5 separate regions of the Homo sapiens genome follow, and all the other regions are linked to region 1. Evidence: promoter capture Hi-C in 16 types of primary human blood cells and fetal thymus (Javierre and others, 2016). All regions are on one chromosome and are shown on one strand. The core of a region is centred on a gene start or on the middle of the fragment in contact, and the rest is flanking DNA. Distances in the headings are between cores, read along the strand shown.

The links. The method cuts DNA at HindIII sites, captures the fragments that hold promoters and counts their contacts. A CHiCAGO score of 5 or more calls a contact.
Region 2: a fragment that was not itself captured here is called in contact with the fragment with the promoter of SLC25A14 in region 1 in 2 of 17 cell types (non-activated CD4 T cells and naive B cells); the score reaches 6.1 in non-activated CD4 T cells.
Region 3: a fragment that was not itself captured here is called in contact with the fragment with the promoter of SLC25A14 in region 1 in 1 of 17 cell types (total CD8 T cells); the score reaches 5.1 in total CD8 T cells.
Region 4: a fragment that was not itself captured here is called in contact with the fragment with the promoter of SLC25A14 in region 1 in 11 of 17 cell types (activated CD4 T cells, total CD4 T cells, naive CD8 T cells and 8 more); the score reaches 9.3 in activated CD4 T cells.
Region 5: a fragment that was not itself captured here is called in contact with the fragment with the promoter of SLC25A14 in region 1 in 4 of 17 cell types (non-activated CD4 T cells, activated CD4 T cells, fetal thymus and 1 more); the score reaches 7.2 in non-activated CD4 T cells.

What each region holds. Positions count from the first base shown.
Region 1 is chrX:130,338,248-130,341,627 of GRCh38, forward strand. It overlaps SLC25A14 (solute carrier family 25 member 14), which reads left to right and starts at 1,672. Exons shown (of 11, transcript NM_001282195.2): 1 at 1,672-1,729; 2 at 1,860-2,106. The coding sequence starts at 2,032. RefSeq lists an enhancer at 1,304-1,877 and a silencer at 1,690-1,899. The HindIII fragment of the contact is 19,423 bases long and covers 1-3,380 here.
Region 2 is chrX:129,577,754-129,581,133 of GRCh38, forward strand. The region is part of intron 18 of OCRL (OCRL inositol polyphosphate-5-phosphatase); the gene reads left to right. Among named protein-coding and RNA genes, the nearest start is that of OCRL, 39 kb to the left of the region's middle. The HindIII fragment of the contact is 1,167 bases long and covers 1,129-2,295 here.
Region 3 is chrX:129,594,202-129,597,581 of GRCh38, forward strand. No RefSeq gene overlaps it. Among named protein-coding and RNA genes, the nearest start is that of OCRL, 56 kb to the left of the region's middle. The HindIII fragment of the contact is 2,500 bases long and covers 470-2,969 here.
Region 4 is chrX:130,907,673-130,911,052 of GRCh38, forward strand. No RefSeq gene overlaps it. Among named protein-coding and RNA genes, the nearest start is that of ENOX2, 6.2 kb to the left of the region's middle. The HindIII fragment of the contact is 1,933 bases long and covers 648-2,580 here.
Region 5 is chrX:130,887,716-130,891,095 of GRCh38, forward strand. The region is part of intron 2 of ENOX2 (ecto-NOX disulfide-thiol exchanger 2); the gene reads right to left. Among named protein-coding and RNA genes, the nearest start is that of ENOX2, 14 kb to the right of the region's middle. The HindIII fragment of the contact is 1,123 bases long and covers 1,242-2,364 here.

The DNA of each region.
Region 1 (3,380 bases), core at 422-2,921:
TGGCGAAACCCCGTCTCTACTAAAAATACAAAAATTAGCTGGGTGTGGTAGCAGGCACCTGTAATCCCAGCTACTCAGGAGGCTGAGGCAGGAGAATCGCTTGAACCTGGGAGGTGGAGGTTGCAGTGAGCCGAGATCGCACCACTGCACTCCAGCCTGGACCACAAAGTGAGACTCTGTCCAAAAAAAAACAAACAAAACCCAACAAAATAAAACAAGGTGAACTAAAATGAGAAATATCCTTTTGGAAGAACATAGTTCCAAATATTTATTCATTCAACAAATAACCATTTAGGGCCAACTTGCACTGACTTTTCCTTATAACACATAAGCAATAAACCCTATTATTGCGTACTCTCGCGTGATTAGGGAACGTTGTTAAGAGGCTCAAAAATCGGACGTCATAGCTCAAAAATCGGACGTCATAGCACATTGGCTAATGGAATCACCCAGGGGCTTTGCGGTTTCCCCTTCCAGCAGCCAGAGGGGCCAGAGTCGGAAGCTGGGGGTCGGACTCTTGGCATCTTCTGGTGGATTATGAGGTTTGGATTAACTGGGATTTCCCGTTGGTGTTTTTCTGCCTCATCTGTTTAGCTTTTTGTGGTCCCCTTTTTGGTATCCAACTTGCTCTTTCTTAAGTGAAGTTTCTGATTAAAGCAAGAGCTTCGAGTAAGGGGTCTGACCGTAATTTTTCACTGGTTAATGTCTGACGTCCAGTAGGTGCTGTCTGGATCATTCTCCGTCCCTCCCTCCCTTCTTTCCCTCCCCCCCTTCCTTTCTCTCCCTTTCTCTTTTCTTTCTCTCTCTCCCTCCCTCCTTCCTTTCTCTTTCTCTCTCTCTCTCTTTCTCTCCTTTCTTGGATGGAGTCTTGCTTTGTCACCCAGGCTAGAGGGCAGTGGCGTGATCTCAGCTCACTGCAACCTCCACCTCCGGGGTTCAAGTGACTCTCCTGCCTCAGCCTCCCGAGTAGCTGGGACCACAGGTGCGTGCCACCACACCCAGCTAATTTTTTTGCATTTTTACTAGAGACGGGATTTCACCATGTTGGCCAGGCTGGTCTCAAAACTCCTGGCATCAAGTGATGCGCCCGGACCCTCAAAGTGTTGAGATTACAGGCGTGAGCCACCGCGCCTGGCCTTGAACTTTATTTTCTCATTGAGCCCAGGCACCTCACTAAATTCGGCTCACCCCTATGTCTCACTTTCCTACTTTTGTTTTGAAGCCTTTGCCCCACCCCCTCCACGTTGCCGCCTTTTTCGTACTGAGCGCGCAGGGCACTACGCCCACCACTCCCCTTGACCCACTCCTCAAGCCCTGATACCGGGGCGAGGCCCCTTCCTTTTCTAGTCCTTCTACGCGCCAGGTGGGTGGGTTTCGCGGTGACGAGGCGACACCTCTTTCCCCTCTGGCGAGCACGTTAACTGGGGAAGCTACCAAATTCTCACGCCTTAGCTGCCCTGCCTCCACCTCCCGCAAGTCCGGTTGCCCCTCTAGGCTTCTGCGCCTGCAGTGGTTCCGACCCTCGCCTTTAGAACTCTGCCGCTTCCGCCTCTTATTTCGCGCCTTTGTTTTTAGTTTTGGAAGGGGCGGAGTTGAAATGGCTGCGCCGCGGTTGCCGAAGCAACGCTTTGGTTACTTCCGTTGGTTTCAATGCTTCCGGGTTGGCGCTGCAGTGGCGTTTCCGACTGTGGGAGCCTCAGCTTCCCAGTCGTCCGATGAGCCCGAGCAGGTGAGGGGGAGCTCCTGGACTTCCAGGCTGGGGAGCGGGGCTGGGCCGCGCCAGGCCGCGCGGGGCCGGGCTGGCCTGGTTCCCGGCCTGGGAGGGGCTTAACGGTCCTCTGGTCTCTCTCTCCCCTCAGCTGAGTCCCTTCCCTGTCTTTCACTCTTCTGGCATCGGTGGTTTTACTTCTTCGATTGAACCCTGCTTCCTCGACCCCCCTGGGAGGCCGCCTTCTTCAGGCGCCTCCCTTCTCTCCACGAGCTCGCTCTGACAGCTGAGGAACTGGCAAGATCCTGCTACCCAGAGGGTGAATGGGTATCTTTCCCGGAATAATCCTAATTTTTCTAAGGGTGAAGTTTGCAACGGCGGCCGTGATTGTAAGCGGAGTAAGCAAACACCTCCATTGTATTAGTGTAAGGGATACTGTTGAAAGATGCTCCCCTTCGGTTTCTACCCCCTGTCACTCCTGAGGTCAAGGCATTGAAGGCATCTATTAAAATGCAGTTCAGTTACTTGATTGGCATGACAGCTGTTATCAACATGAATTAGTTTCTCAGACAGGATAACAGCAGGGACATTTATGGTTTCCTGTCAGTGATTCCTTGTTGTTGTTGTTTTTCCCCCCAGCCTAGAGATGCCTAGCGTTATCATGAACTCTTCCCTCGTCTTCATTCCCTACATCATCGAGTTCTTTGTGTCTTCATTGGGGAAGTCTATCTCTAACCTCAGTGCCAACAAGCATCTTTGTCTGCTGTACTTTGCACCATCCTAAGCTAGTCTCCCTGCCTCTCCCGTTTGTAATGTAATCCACTGTGTTTGCTGCAGCCCTAATAGGCTAAAATGTGGTGGATTTCCTCAAGTCACTTCGTTGTTAAACACACACACACAAAACATGCAGCCCCCTCCTACACCCCCTACCCCCACCCCTTGGTTTCAAGCCTTTCAACATAACATGCTCCTTATCACACTTCTTGTCTGATACTGTTTCAGTCAACAAGGGAATTCTCTGTTCCAGTTAGGTTCCTTTCTTCTTGGCACAAACCATACTGATGCCTGCTTCTACATGCTGTGCTTGTTCCCACATTTGTGTTTCTGTTCATTCTCTCTTCCCTGCCCCTCTCCCTTACCTGCACCTAACCAGGTTGTACCTACCGTCTCTCAAGGTTCAATTTAGGTTCTCTCACCTCGGCAATTTTCAAATTAGTCAATCCCATGCTGGTTGTAGTCTTTTCTATGCTCCTCTTGCTCTTAAAGTTTGTACTACACAGTTTAGTACTTAATTTTTCTCTAACGCACTACTTTGATTTCTTCCACCAGATTATAAGCTCTTGAAAGGCAAGTACTGTATTTCGTACTTTTTTCTCTGTCCCATCTCATTGGTTATTCAGAAAAGACAGGTTGAGTGGTAAATATTGTCTTGGTGCTAGAACGAATATCTGTGTTTTTCAAATATGATTATACCCAAAGTGCATTGCAGGTTTGGGCATTTAGCATGCCTTCAATAAATATCTGCTTGGCTCTCCATTGTTACCTTCTGAATCTGAGAATCTCTAATTTCTACTCTTTCTTAAAGGAGAAAGCAGGAGAGGCACCCAGAGTTTCCTGACCAGATCTTGGGAGTAGTATAGGGCAATGTAACTTGTATTGTAGGACATTCTTA
Region 2 (3,380 bases), core at 462-2,961, 760 kb before region 1:
TACCTCTGTTTGAGAGAGAACCATTTTCTTCAGAAATTCATATCCTACCGTTCTGCTGTTTTTCATGATAATTGTTTTTCTCCTAACATTATATTTCTGTCTTTTAGATTTTAGTATTTCACCTTTTAGAATACATTTTGGATGATGAAGTTGTTTTTCTTATTTCTCCTACCCCCTTTCCTTCATCTCAGACATTATTTCCCAGCTTTCTTTGTTTCAGCTTTTTATTATGAAAAATGTCAAATGTGCAGAAAAATGGAAAGAACAGTACAACACACCCCCACATGCCTTCTGTACATATATACACACAGATGTTTTTTGCTGTGTCATGTAAAATTTAGTGGTAATATGTCACTTCACCACTGAACACTTCAGCCTGCATCTCTTAACAAAAAGGGCACACTTAAGCACAATACCATTATTATGTATAAGAAAACTAACAGTAATCCATAGTATCATTTAACATTCGGTCCATATTCAGATTTCTTCAGTTGTCCCAAGAATTTCTGTTATACCTTTTTTTAAACCAAAATCCAATCTGGGTTCATATAGTATTTGGTGAGGTCTCTGAAGTCTCTATTGGAGTAGTACAGTTCCTACTTTCTTTAGTGACATTGACTTTTTTAAGAGTCCAGTACAAATGTCCAGTCAAGGGTCAACCATTTCCTAAATTTTTCTGGTTGTTTCCTTCTTGTTTTTTTTTTTTTTAAACTTATCCCATTTATACTCTCTCCTTCCACCTTCATGTAAACAGGAACCTACCCTTATTTTTAGTCAGAGTCAGTGAAGATATTAGAATATCTTTGCCATTAATATGAAAAACTGCAAAGCCATTAATATGAAAAACTTTGCAGTTTTTCATATTCTGGGATTGGCCAGAAGAGGCTCAACCCTCATAAAGTTTTTATTTTATGTAAAGTATACTATCAGGTAATTTTACCATGTTTGCCCATGAACAGAAAGGAACCAAAATCATTAGAGGAATGAATGGCTCTTTGGGAAGCCTTTTTCCTTCTTTTTGTGCACAAGTGATTGAGGGTTAAAATAATAGAACCCTGATCATTTTTAATTACAGAATTTCTGAGTTTTTATTAAATTGTATGTGTGTGGACATCATTTTTCTTTTAAAGCTTTTATTTTGTAGGATTTAGGGTTCTTTTCACAGTCTGTTGCATTTCAGTGTTATTAAATTCCTGTATCTCATTGATGAGGAAATTATCTATACAGGTTGATTATCCATTATCCAAAATGCTTGGGACCAAAAGTGTTTCAGATTTCAATCTTTTTCAGATTTTCAAATATATGCATTATATACTTACCAGTTCAGCTTCCCTAATCTGGAAATCGGAAATCTGAAATGCTTCAATGAGCATTTCCTTTGATCATCATGACAGTACTCAAAAAGTTTCGAGTTTTGGAGCATTTTGGATTTCTGGATTGGGAATACTCAACCTGCATTACTGTGGAGCAGTAAACAAGAAATCTAAAAACAATTAGTATCCCATCTTTAATACCTTCTCACTCTGTTGTGACTTGATTTTGACCTTCTGAAATGATTCCTCAGGTATAGTATTCATGTTTTTTTTCCCCAAGACCCAATATCGTATTTCAAATCTCATGAGATGATGCTGTTAATAATGGTACCTGCCCTCTGTTGTATTATTTGCTCTAAAATTTTGGTAAAGCCAGAAACGAGTTCAATGTATGTGTTGTCTCTCTATGTACTGTTTTAGAAAGATCCTTATGCACTGTTTTAGAAAGATCCTTATGCCACACCATCTTCCCACCAAATGCAGAATGAAATAACTGACATAATTATTTTTCATCCTTCCAGCCCTTTTCATAATAGTGACTTTGCCACTCCTAGAATAGTTGAGATTAGCACAAGTGGGAAACGGATGAAAATCTACCATTTGTAATCATCTTTATTGTTTTTCAGAATTAAGATAGATTTTTCTGTTATATTAACTAGAATATTAAGTAGCAAATAATCCTCAATATTGATTCATTACACACTGGATACAAAGTATTATGGAGTTTATGTGAGTTCCCATAATTTAGTGGTGATGAAAGTATATTTGCACATAAAATATGGCTAAACTTTAAGTCATGGTTAATAGGGAGTTTGGTTAAAGATAATCTGAACATTAACCACCTTTACTGGCTAATGTCTGGTGTGCTTGGTAAGTCAGTATTTTGGAAAGTCGTTTAAAGTGACTGCTATGAAGGTTGTAGTTTGTATTAACAATAGGTTCCTTTCCTATGTTGTTTATTCAAGCCCTTATATGCTATAAAAGCTTATTGACTGACCAGCTAATCCCTATAGAAATCAGAATCAGCCTGTTTTCATTTTAATGAATATTTGATACATGTAACATTAACATGACTGAGAAATAAGTTTAGCACATAAGAATAAAGTGAACTAGGAAGGTGATTTGGAGTTAGTTATAGAAGTATTTTCAGTCAAGTCCAAGTACTTAAGAAACACTTATTAATATAGTGGGTGAGCAGGCTCTTCCAGGCTTAGAGGACATCTTGAATAAAGGGTAGAAGGTGAAAGTGAAAAGACCATGTATGAAAAACTGTAAGATTTCCCTGGGACAAGTGAAGATCAAGGATAAGAATGTATGAAGCTGGTTAGGGAGAATGGGGCAGGTGGTAGAGAGTCTTGAAGTCAATAGATAAGTTTATGCATGAGCCAGAGGGTATCTAGAACCATCAGAAGGGTTTGCTGATTAGTATGAGGTTGCAAATTGATATAGTTGGAAGAACATTCTGGTGTTACTTGTAGAATGGACTAATTGAAAGGAGACAAGACTTGAACTTGCCAGATGTGGCTAAGTTGTAAATACGGAGATGAAAAAAGTTGAGGGATGGGTAGAGAAACTATATTTGCTTGGGGACATATCTGTTGGGAGAACAATATCAAAAGTTTGAAATAACAGGAATAACTTGTTAATTTGTCCGTAGTGTTTTTTTCACTATGTTTTTACTTTGTCTTACTAATCTAACCATCCATTTCTTACTCTGTTAAGTATATGGCTTGTATTTCTTCTCTATTTCATATGAACTAATCCTTTTTAGAACTTCATTTTCCATTCAGTTTTCGGCTATTTATTTATTTATTTTTGAGATGGAGTCTTACCCTGTCGGCCAGGCTGTAGTGCAGTGGCACAATCTTGGCTCACTGCAACCTCCATCTCCCAGTTCAAGTGACTCTCCTGCCTCAGCCTCCCGAGTAACTGGGACTACAGGCGCGCGCCACCACGCCTGGCTAATTTTTGCCTTTTTAGTAGAGATGGGGTTTTACTGTGTTGGCCAGGCTGGTCTTGAACACCTGACCTCAGGTGATCCACCCGCCTCAGCTTCCCAAGGTGCTG
Region 3 (3,380 bases), core at 470-2,969, 740 kb before region 1:
GGGTGTCGTCATGGCCTCCTGCCTAGTCTTCTTTCTCTCTCTCTCTCTTTTTTTTCTTTTTTGAGACAGGGTCTTACTCTGTTGCCTCAGCTGGAGTGCAGTGGCATGATCGGCTCACTGCTGCAGCCTGACTTCCCAGGTTCAAGCGATGCTCCCACCTCAGCCTCCGAGTAGCTGGGACTGTAGGCGCACATTACCAAGCCTGGCTAATTAAAAAAAAAATAATTGTAGAGGTAGGGTCCCCCTGTGTTGCCCAGGCTGGTCTCAAACTCCTGGGCTCAAGCAGTCCTCCCACCTTGGCTTCACAAAGTGCTGGGATTAGAGGCATGAGCCCACCATGCCCTGCCTGGTCTTTTTAACTTTGCTGCCCTCCAATCCATTTTCCACGCAGCAGGCAGCATGACTTAATTACATCAGTCTCATCCCTCCCCTGTTGATAACCCTTCAGCGACATTTACAATGAAACCTAAGCTTCGCCATGGCCCACCAGGCCCTGCATCAATGGGTCTCAAATCTTCATGTGCAGAAGAATCACCTGGATACATTGTTAAAAAGCAGATTCCTAGGCTCCAGAAATTCTGAGTCAGTTGGTCTGAGAGGAGGCACAGGAGTCTGCATTCTAAATCAGGACCCAAGAGCATTTTGATGCAGGACCACACTTTGAGAATACCACCCTAAAGGATCTGACCTCTGCCTACCATAACCCTTCCTCACCCCTGCCAATATACTCTGATACTGTCCTTTTACTCCTCCCAGTGAGCTGAACTCTTTCCAGCCTCAGGGCCTTTGCATGTGCTGTTTACCCAGAAAACTCCTTCCTCTCTCTTTCTTGCCTCAGTCCCCATCTTTGCTGTGCCTAACCCTAAGTCACCCGCCCTGTCCCATTGACTCTCTGCCCTCATTCCTGGGCTTCCTGGTATAGCATGCTGGCTGACTGCCCCTGGGCTTGCCATGTACTCTTCCACAATCTTCCTCTTCCTCTCTTGATGACCTCACGTACCTGCTCCACGGGGCCTGGGGAGGCAGGAAGCTATAGTGGTTCTTCACATAGGCTCTAATGACCAGACTGCCTGAGTTCAAATCCCAGCTCTGCCACTTCTAGATGTGTGACCCTGATCAAAAGTTAATTGACGTCTCTGTGCCTTGGTTTCCATGTCTTTTCTCTCCAGCTTTATTGGGTATAATTGAGAAGACAAATTGTACGTATTGAAGGTGTTTCCACATCTTAAAAGTAATGATAGCACCTTTCCTCATAGTATCATCATGAGGATGAGATCAGATACTACATTTCCAGGCCTTGGAACAGTGCCTGGTGCCTAAGTGCTAAATAAATGGCAGCTAGTGCAATTATTCCCAAGCCCTCCATGGGCCTCCAGGCCCAGAACCCGCTTCTGCTGCCCTTCAGCTCCCAGCAAGTGACTGTACCCTTTACTTTGTGAAAATGTCAAAACAGCCTTGCCCCCTGCACATCAAAATGTCTTCAGCTTAACCTCATCCCTCCCCCTTTCCATCTGTCTGAGAATAAGCGGTCCTCCTCGCCAAGACCAGCTCTTCCACCTGCACTTTTGAGCCCTTCTCCTCCACCCTCTCTGGACTTTTCCCCATCAACCATCACTCCTCCTCCTACATCTCAGTATGGGTTATTCACTTGACAAGTATTTGTTGAGTGGCTCCTGTGCGCCCTGTGCTGTTCAAGGTGCTGGGGATCTAGAATTAAACCAGACAAGGTTGCCGCTCTCATGGTGCCTTCATCAAGAGGGCAGGGCAGGGATGAGGGTGGACAGACATGCAAATTAACAGTACCCAAGGTCACTACAGATCCTGACAAGTACTGTGGAGAGTATCAAACGGGGATGCACTCGAGGGTACAGCGGGGGGCCTTGGTCAGGAAAAGTTTATTTGAGGAGGTGATGTTTTAGCTGAGACTTAAACCTCAGGAAGCCAAGACACCGTATCTTGATTTGAATACCCCCAAAAAGAGCCACACGTGCAAGATCTGGCAAAAGACATTCTGAGCAAAGGAAAAGAGAAATGCAAAGGCCCTAAGGCAGCAAAACAGCTGGCTGTGCTCAGGGGACAGCCAGGCAGAACTCTGTGAGGGACAGGACTTGCTGGACAACTGATGAGCAGGAACGTGATCACAGAGGGCCTGAGGAACCCCAGGCAGGAGCTTGCATTTCATTCGACACCACAGGGAGCCATGGCTGGCTTTACTCAGGGAAGTGACGTGATGTGACTTCTGTATGCTCCTTCTCCTAACCTTAGGAAGAGTAATAACTAATAACTCTAGCTGTCATTTATCCCAGATACTAATACATTTAACATCACTTTTGCCTTTACGATAGCCTGATAAAGTACTACATTATCCCACTTTTTTTTTTTTTTTTTAAGACGGAGTCTAGCTCTGTCACCCAGGCTGGAGTGCGGTAGCATAATCTCGGCTCACTGCAACCTCCACCTCCCGTGTTCAAGCTATTCTCCTGCCTCAGCCTCCCGAGTAGCTGGGATTACAGGCACGTGCCACCACGCCTGGCTAAGTTTTGTATTTTTAGTAGTGACAGGGTTTCACCATCTTGGCCAGGCTGGTCTGAAACTCCTGACCTCGTGATCCACCCGCCTTGGCCTCCCAAAGTGCTGGGATTACAGGTGTGAGCCACCATGCCCGGCCATTAGCCCACTTTTATAGGTGAGAAAACTGAGGCTCAGAGAGACAGCATAACTTGGTACTCGGCTAGTGGCTGACCAGAAAATGACTTCTGAGCCCAAAATTTGTGCTCTTAAACACAGCCATTGTCTCCCCAGCTGGAGTGGGCATGAAGGTGAGGGTGCTTCTTAAAACCCCTATCCCTTCTAGCTACATCCCAAGATTTCATGTCAGCTAGATTGCCTGCTGGCAGGTCAAATTCAACTTCTCTTTGACCTTGACCAGCTTCTCCTGGCATCCTCCTCTCTCCCATCACCCAGGCCTAAGCTTTTGGTTATTTTTGGCCCCTGCCCCACTTTCTAATCAGTTACCAATTGCAATTCAACAAATATTTATCCAGCACCTGCCAAGTGCAGGCTACCATGCAGGGTTCTGAAGGAAACCAAAATGGGTGAGACTGGTCGTTACAAGACAAGACAGACATAATATTTTTGTTTGTTTTGTTTTATTTGACACGGAGTCTCACTCTGTTGCCCAGGCTGGAGTGCAGTGGCGCGATCTTGGCTCACTGCAACCTGCACCTCCTGTGTTCAAGCGATTCTCCTGTCTCAGCCTCCCTAGTAGCTGGGACTACAGGCGCGTGCCACCACACCCAGCTAATTTATTTGTATTTTTATTTTTAGTAGAGACGGGCTTTCACCATGTTGGCCAGGCTGGTCTTGAACTCCTGATCTCA
Region 4 (3,380 bases), core at 364-2,863, 570 kb after region 1:
CAATAATTAAGTCTCAGTCCGTGGCCAATGGTAAGGCACAGTCAATGTCTAATATTCAGTCTGTTGCCATGTTAGGACATTACCTGTCATGTGCCCTAGAGCCTTGTCTCAAACCAGAGTTAGCATTTCATATATGGACAAAATTATGATACAGTTTGTGGCCAGGATTTCAATGATGAATATGAACAGGATTTGGGATGCATATTTGGCTAGAGTAAGTTCAAGGTGTGGTTTCTGACTTTAGCCAGTGTCAGGATTCTGTCTTTGTCCATAGCTCATATCAACAATGTTCTATGGAGCTAACTCACAGTGGCCTGTGTTGGCCCTCATTCTGTGGCCAGAGCAGGGCTCAGTCGGTGACCTGTATTAGCCATTTCAATTTGACCACTATCAGAGTTGAGTCTGGAGGGAGTAATTCCACTATGACTTTATGTAGCATTTGTGTTCACTGAGTATTGGTGGTAGTGCTATCTGATTAAACTTGTACCAGAGTTTGGGAGTTACCAATAACCAAGGTAAGGCTTACTATGAAGAAGGTTTTAAGGCTAAGAGTGTAAACAGGTTTTTTGGATTAGCTGTTGATGTTATTTGTCAGTCAGTGGATAGAGTTGAGATGAGAACAAACAACACATAAAATCCAGATTGAAAGCTTTAGAGGCTCAGGCTGTAATCAGGGTTTTGGGATCAGGATGTTGCCAGGGTTTGAGTTCAGAGTGTTCATTGCCTGTTGTCAGTCTGGCACTTAGACTCTGGCTTAGTGTAGCAGGCATTTCGGTATCAGTAGTAGAGTTCAGTCTTTGCTAATTGTTAGTGACCATAATGTGCCCAGTGCCATGGGTACATCTATTCACAATTGAGGACTAAGTTTGTGACCAGACTGATTGCTCAACCTCCAGCTAGTGCTAGGACTCAGTTTGTGGCCACTAATACAGTGAACTTTGTTTATGGGTTTAAGACTTGATATGTGACAAAGGTGAGTACTTAGTCTCAGCCTGTTGTTAGATCTGATAATATGAGCAGGATTTTGATTTAGTCTTGTAGGGTCAGGAATCATTTCTCTAACCAGGCTTAGGGCTTGGCCTTTAGGTCTCAGACTGTGGTGGGACTTACAGTCTTCATCCCAGCTCAGTATTCAGAATGTGGCCAGGAAGAGGGCTCAGATCTTAGCCATGGTGAGTTCCGTCTGTGCTCAGGGTTAGAATTAAATCTGTTGCAGGGTTTTAGGCCAAGAAAATGAAAAGTATTTGTTTTGTCTTTGTCTAGTTTGTCCTTCATTCATCTTCAAGGTTTGGGTTCAGTCTCTGCCCAGTGCTGGTGAGCAGCTTAATTTCTGGTATTAGGAATCAGTCGGTAGCCAGGGTTAAAGTTAAAGTTGTGGTTGAAATTGGGATCCAGTCTCGGGTGAACATTTAGCCAGAGATAGGGTTCAGTCTATCTCAAAAATTCAGGATCAGTCATTAGCCATTTGGAGAAATCAGATTTATTTTCAGGTTGAAAGCTCATGTCAGAGGTTAGGCTTATGGGCTCAGTCTGTGATGAGAGTTAGGAATTCAGTCTATGGCTAGAGTTAGAGATGCAGTCTGTAACCAGTTAGAAGCTGTAAGGTTTAGGGGTCAAATCAGTGGCCAGTGATAGGGCTCAGTCTGTCCCAGGATCAGTAGATTATTTCCTGATCAGATTTATGAACCCAGTCTCTGTCCAGGTTTAGAACTTGGGCTTTGAACATGGTTAAGACTCAGTTTGTGGCCATGTTCAGGGTTCTGTCTATAGTCAGGATTAGGACATATGCTGTGGTCAAAATATTCTCAAGTTTTGTGGAAGATTTGGTTTCACTTCTTGGCCATGATTAAGGCACAGAGTTGGGACAAGTTTAGAGTCTGGTCTCTGTACATGTTTTCGTCTCTGTATGAGGCCAAGTTTAGTAGTCATTCTGTTGCCAATGTTGGGGTCATTTTCTGGTTAGTGCTAAGTCTGGGAAATTGTAGCTGGGTTGGTTTCCAAGATCAGATCTCAGGCTGTGACCAAGTTAGAGCCTCAGTCTGTAGTCAGGGCTAGAGCTCAGTTAGTATCTATGCTGAGCACTCATTTTGTGGTCAGTTCAGGATGTTAAGTATATCCCAGAGTTAGGTCATGCAGTCTGTAGCCTAGTTTAGAGACTCAGCCTGGGGACAGACTTAGGGGCTATATCTGATGTTATTTTTGATCCCTGTATCGTGAATTAAGGACTTATACAGTAGCCATAGTTATGGTTCAATAGGGGATCAGGGTTAGAGATTCAGGTTGGGACCAGTCTTAAGTACTTACTCTTGGGCCAGATGTAGACAGTCAGTATGTAACTAGGCCTAGGGACTTGATTTAATCAGGATTAAGACCTTGGAGTGTGGCCAGAAAGTGGCTCAGTTTGTGGATAGAATTAGGGTCTTCATTTGTGGCCAGGGTTAAAGGCTTGGTGTGAAATTGGAGTTAAGCCTCCAAGTTCAGAGTTAGGAGTTTAGGCTATGTCTTGGGTTAGGTGTTTGGCTGGTGGTCAGGGTTAAACACAGGATCTGCATTCAGTGTTGGCAGCTTGCTCTGTGACCAAGCTTAAGAGACTGTTTGCTCAGCCTGTGGTGATAGTGATTGGTAATTATACATCAATAAAGTTGTCATAAAAGGTTAAAAAAGTGGATTCATACAAGTGAAATGGTAGGAATGATGCAGGGAAGAAACCATAAAGAGAGGCCGTTTACTGAATCAGGACCAGCAATGTCCTTGGTGTCTCAGAATTTTTGCTTAAGAAGGACAGGGCAAGCACATGAGATTGAGAAGAAAGGAAAGAACTGGTGACCAGGGAGCTGGTAACCCTGGGAAGTAGATATGTGCTTCTTGAAGGACAGACATTTTTATAAATTGTGGAATTAATGCAAGTTGGAAAACCTTGCAAAAAATGGAAAGTCCCATTTGGTTTTTTGTTTGTTTGTTTTGTTTTGTTTGTTTTTTGGGGATTTTTTTGAGACGGAGTTTCGTTCTTGTTGCCCAGGCTGGTGTGCAATGGCGCGGTCTTGGCTCACTGCAACGTCTGCCTCCTGAGTTCAAGTGATTCTCCTGCCTCAGCCTCCCAAGTAACTGGGATTACAGGCACCCACCCCCACGCCCAGCTAATTTTTTTGTATTTTCAGCAGAGACGGGCTTCACCATGTTGGCCAGGCTGGTCTCAAACTTCTGACCTCAGGTGTTCCACCCGCCTTGGCCTCCCAAAGTGTTGGGATTACAGGCATGAACCACCACACCCGGCCAGAAAGTCCCATTTGTTAAGCTCTTACATCATGTTCTTTTTGCCAGTATTGGTTTTCCTGAGCACCCTTTCTAAACCATTCCTCATCTTGCCCCAGGCTACACTG
Region 5 (3,380 bases), core at 553-3,052, 550 kb after region 1:
CGTTCGGGATTTCATACATCAGTGCCTAAAGAAACAGCATGCAGTTGACAAATCAGAACTTTACGATTTGCATGCCTTGGAAGAAATCTTAGCTCACAGCTCCAAACAAAATAATGTTTGCCCACTCTTACAGGGCACAGAAAGTCACCCCTTTGCTTTTTCTTTCCTCTGGCTACCCTTATTCCTGAGAAATCAACATTCAGAATGAATATTTGCTAATTTTCCCTAAAGAATTGTATTTTTAAAAGGCTGGAAGCAAAGGAAGTATAAAGAAATTAAATTCTATTGAACATGACATCTCTTAACACAAAGGCAAGAAGCTAATTATTTTAAGGCAATTCTTCATCCCTAGTCCCATTCCCCAAGCGCAGCTTTCACACCTATAATCAGTGGATCACACAACTTTTGTCCATATATTTAACACTGAAAAACAAATCTATGTCTACCTAAAAATAGTTCAGTTAAAATGAAGGTGAAAAGCCAAGAGCTATGTGCAGGACCCACTTCATTAGGTGACTTGAGAAAGCACTTTACATGTAAGTGCTTCAGTTTTACTCATCCACTAAACTAAAGCTCATTTTTAGACGGATTTTAAAATTAATCACGAGTAGGAACAAAAAGGAGATAGTGTCTTTGGGAGGAAACATGATACAACCGAAGGAGCACTGGGGCTGGGTATCAGGAAACCTGGGTTCAGCTTCCAGTTCTACAACTTTCTAACTATGTGACTCTGGCCAAGTCACTTAACTTCTTTGAGCCTAAGTTCCCTTTATTTGTTAACTGGAGATAATAGTACCTATCCTGACTGTCTCACAGGATTGCTGTGAACAGCTAATGAGATAATAGGTATGAAAACCCTTTTGTAAATTGTAAAGGGTTATACAATTGTATGGGATTATTACTACCATGCCCTAAACAAATCTTGCCTTAATGATTGAAGTGAGGCACCTCTATCACATAAGGCAAATAAAAAGAAAGAACTAATATAATTTCATGAAACACTGCTCAATTCTTACAATTTTTAAATTAGACGGAATCGCTGTTTGCTCTTAAAATTCTATAGCAGGGAACGTTTTTGAGAAAATTTTAAAATAATACATCAAAAGTTTATTAAAGAGACTGGAGCCCTCTAAATTCTCTCTTTCCTTTCTGGAAAGTCAGTCCATTTTTCTTCATATGGTCTAGCATTATGTCCCATCTGGAATGCAAACTACTAGATAATGAGCATCTCCTTTTGTTCAAGCTTTCTATTTGCCTGTTACATCCTCATTGCCCAGTGTGTTGGGGGAGGATTCAAGGTGATTAACTAAATCTAAATCCACAAGGTAAAAATCCAAAGTTATGCTTTATGAGGCTCCAAGCTGCCTTGATCCTATGTATACAGTGACCAGCTGGCTTCAGCTGGGACACAATTTTAGCACATGAAGTCCTGGGGTGGCCACACCTGGGGCACTAAATGATCCAGGCAATGTTTGGGGATCTTTGGTTCAGCCAAATCCCACATGTCCTGATTTCCATCTGTATGGTGGTTCCCAAGTGTGTTTGTCCACATGAACCAAATCTGAAGCAGCCAAAAGAAAGGTGGGGGATAGAGCAGGGATATCAGATGTCAGCTCCTCTTGGTCCCATCCAGTGCTATCTGTGCCCTCAAACAAGTGCCCATCCTACTTCTTGTAAGAAGAAAGAAAACTTTTTCTAATTGCCCCTTTGAACGTCATTGCTACTACTGAAGATGCCAGTAAAATATATATCCAAAATCTATGTTAAGCCAATTGGGAAAAGGATAATATTAATCACATAACAGGTAATTGGTAGCTAAGAGCAAGTGAGCTGCTGAAAGGGGGAAGGGGAGAAAAAGACAAGAGAGGAGGAGGGAAACAGAGGGGAGGGGTGGAGAAAAGAGAAAATGAATCTAAAGTGAGAGCTTTCTAATCAGAAACATACTTGCTGAAATCATCCAAAGTCTCACCTACTATAATAAAAAGTGCTTGTCTTTTGAGGTATTGGGAGTGGCCCCCTAACCATCAAAGCTGCAAACCTAGCCTTCCAACTGCTTAGGGAAACAGTCAAGAGCCTGAAAAGGTACTGACAGCCCTAGCACCAGATCTCACTTTCCTCTGCCATTCAGAAAGTGAGTCAGGTGGGATACAATTCTCCAGAGGCCTCATCCCTGCTACCGTCCACCACAGCCTCACTGGCAGCATGGCTGCCCACTAAGGAAGGTGTCAGTCCAATTTCAGGTTCAGCAAAGGAGGCTTGCCTGTGACTTTTAAAACCACATTGGTAAGAAAGGAACAAAGGCTGTATTTCAGAATAGGACTGTTCTCCCTTTGGGCATTGCAACTAAACTCCTTCACAAATTTAAGCTTGAAATTCATATTCCCCAAGTTCCTCAGAAGGGCCATTCAAAGTAAAGGGAAAGGACAGGAAAGATGATTTTTTTTTTGTTAGCTTCTTTCTGACAGTCAAAAAATGAGGAATATGACTGACAGAGTGTCCCAAAAGGCAATGAGGTGGGAGGCAGTAGTTTCAACCCAGGTTAGCAAGAAGGGCAATGAAAGCATCCTTATAAAAACAAACACGCATACCAAAAACCATTGCACTGTTTCCATTATCCCGATTTCAAGCTCCAGAATGTAAGCACTAATGGTTCCCTAAACCACCCAAGCTCCTCCTCGGCAGCCGTCACCAAGCCTGACTGATTTTTTTCAAATGAATTTCCATCACTAGCCACCCCAGATTCTGAGTATTTTTGTCAAAAACAAAAGTCCTAGTGGAAGATTTCAAAGAACTAAGAACTTGAACCAAACCATGAACTTAAACGGGAAGACACAGAACTAATTTGCTAAATTCCAAACAAAACAGAAATTGTAACAGTTTGAAAGCAACAAAAACTAGCAAGCTGATTTGAACCAGAACAAAGTTTCATGTTTTCTGAATCAATCAAACTTGCACCAAACCCTGAGAGTCTAATCAGCTCAAGCTCCTGCAAAGAACACACAGCAAGGTTTGGTTTCACCTGTCTGAAAGCTGACAAGGGAACCACAGAATGAACACTGGATAAGGAGTCAGAAGAACTGACGTCTCCTGATTTTCTTCACTGTTTGATCTTGGTCAAGTCACTTCTACTCTCTTAGCCTCAGCTTGCTTGCCATGAAATGGCCAGGCTGGGATTGCCAATATCCCAATATCCCAGTTTTAATAGTCTATGCCAACTGTGGAATTTAGTCTAGTGATGAAACAGATAAAGTCACAATTTAGCCTTAATCTGCAGGAGGCAGAGAGATGGACCACCCCAACTCTTTTAAGGATTCATGTTTCTAGCTTATTTTGAAATATACTTGGCCGGGCATGGTGGCTCACACCAATAATCCTAGTAC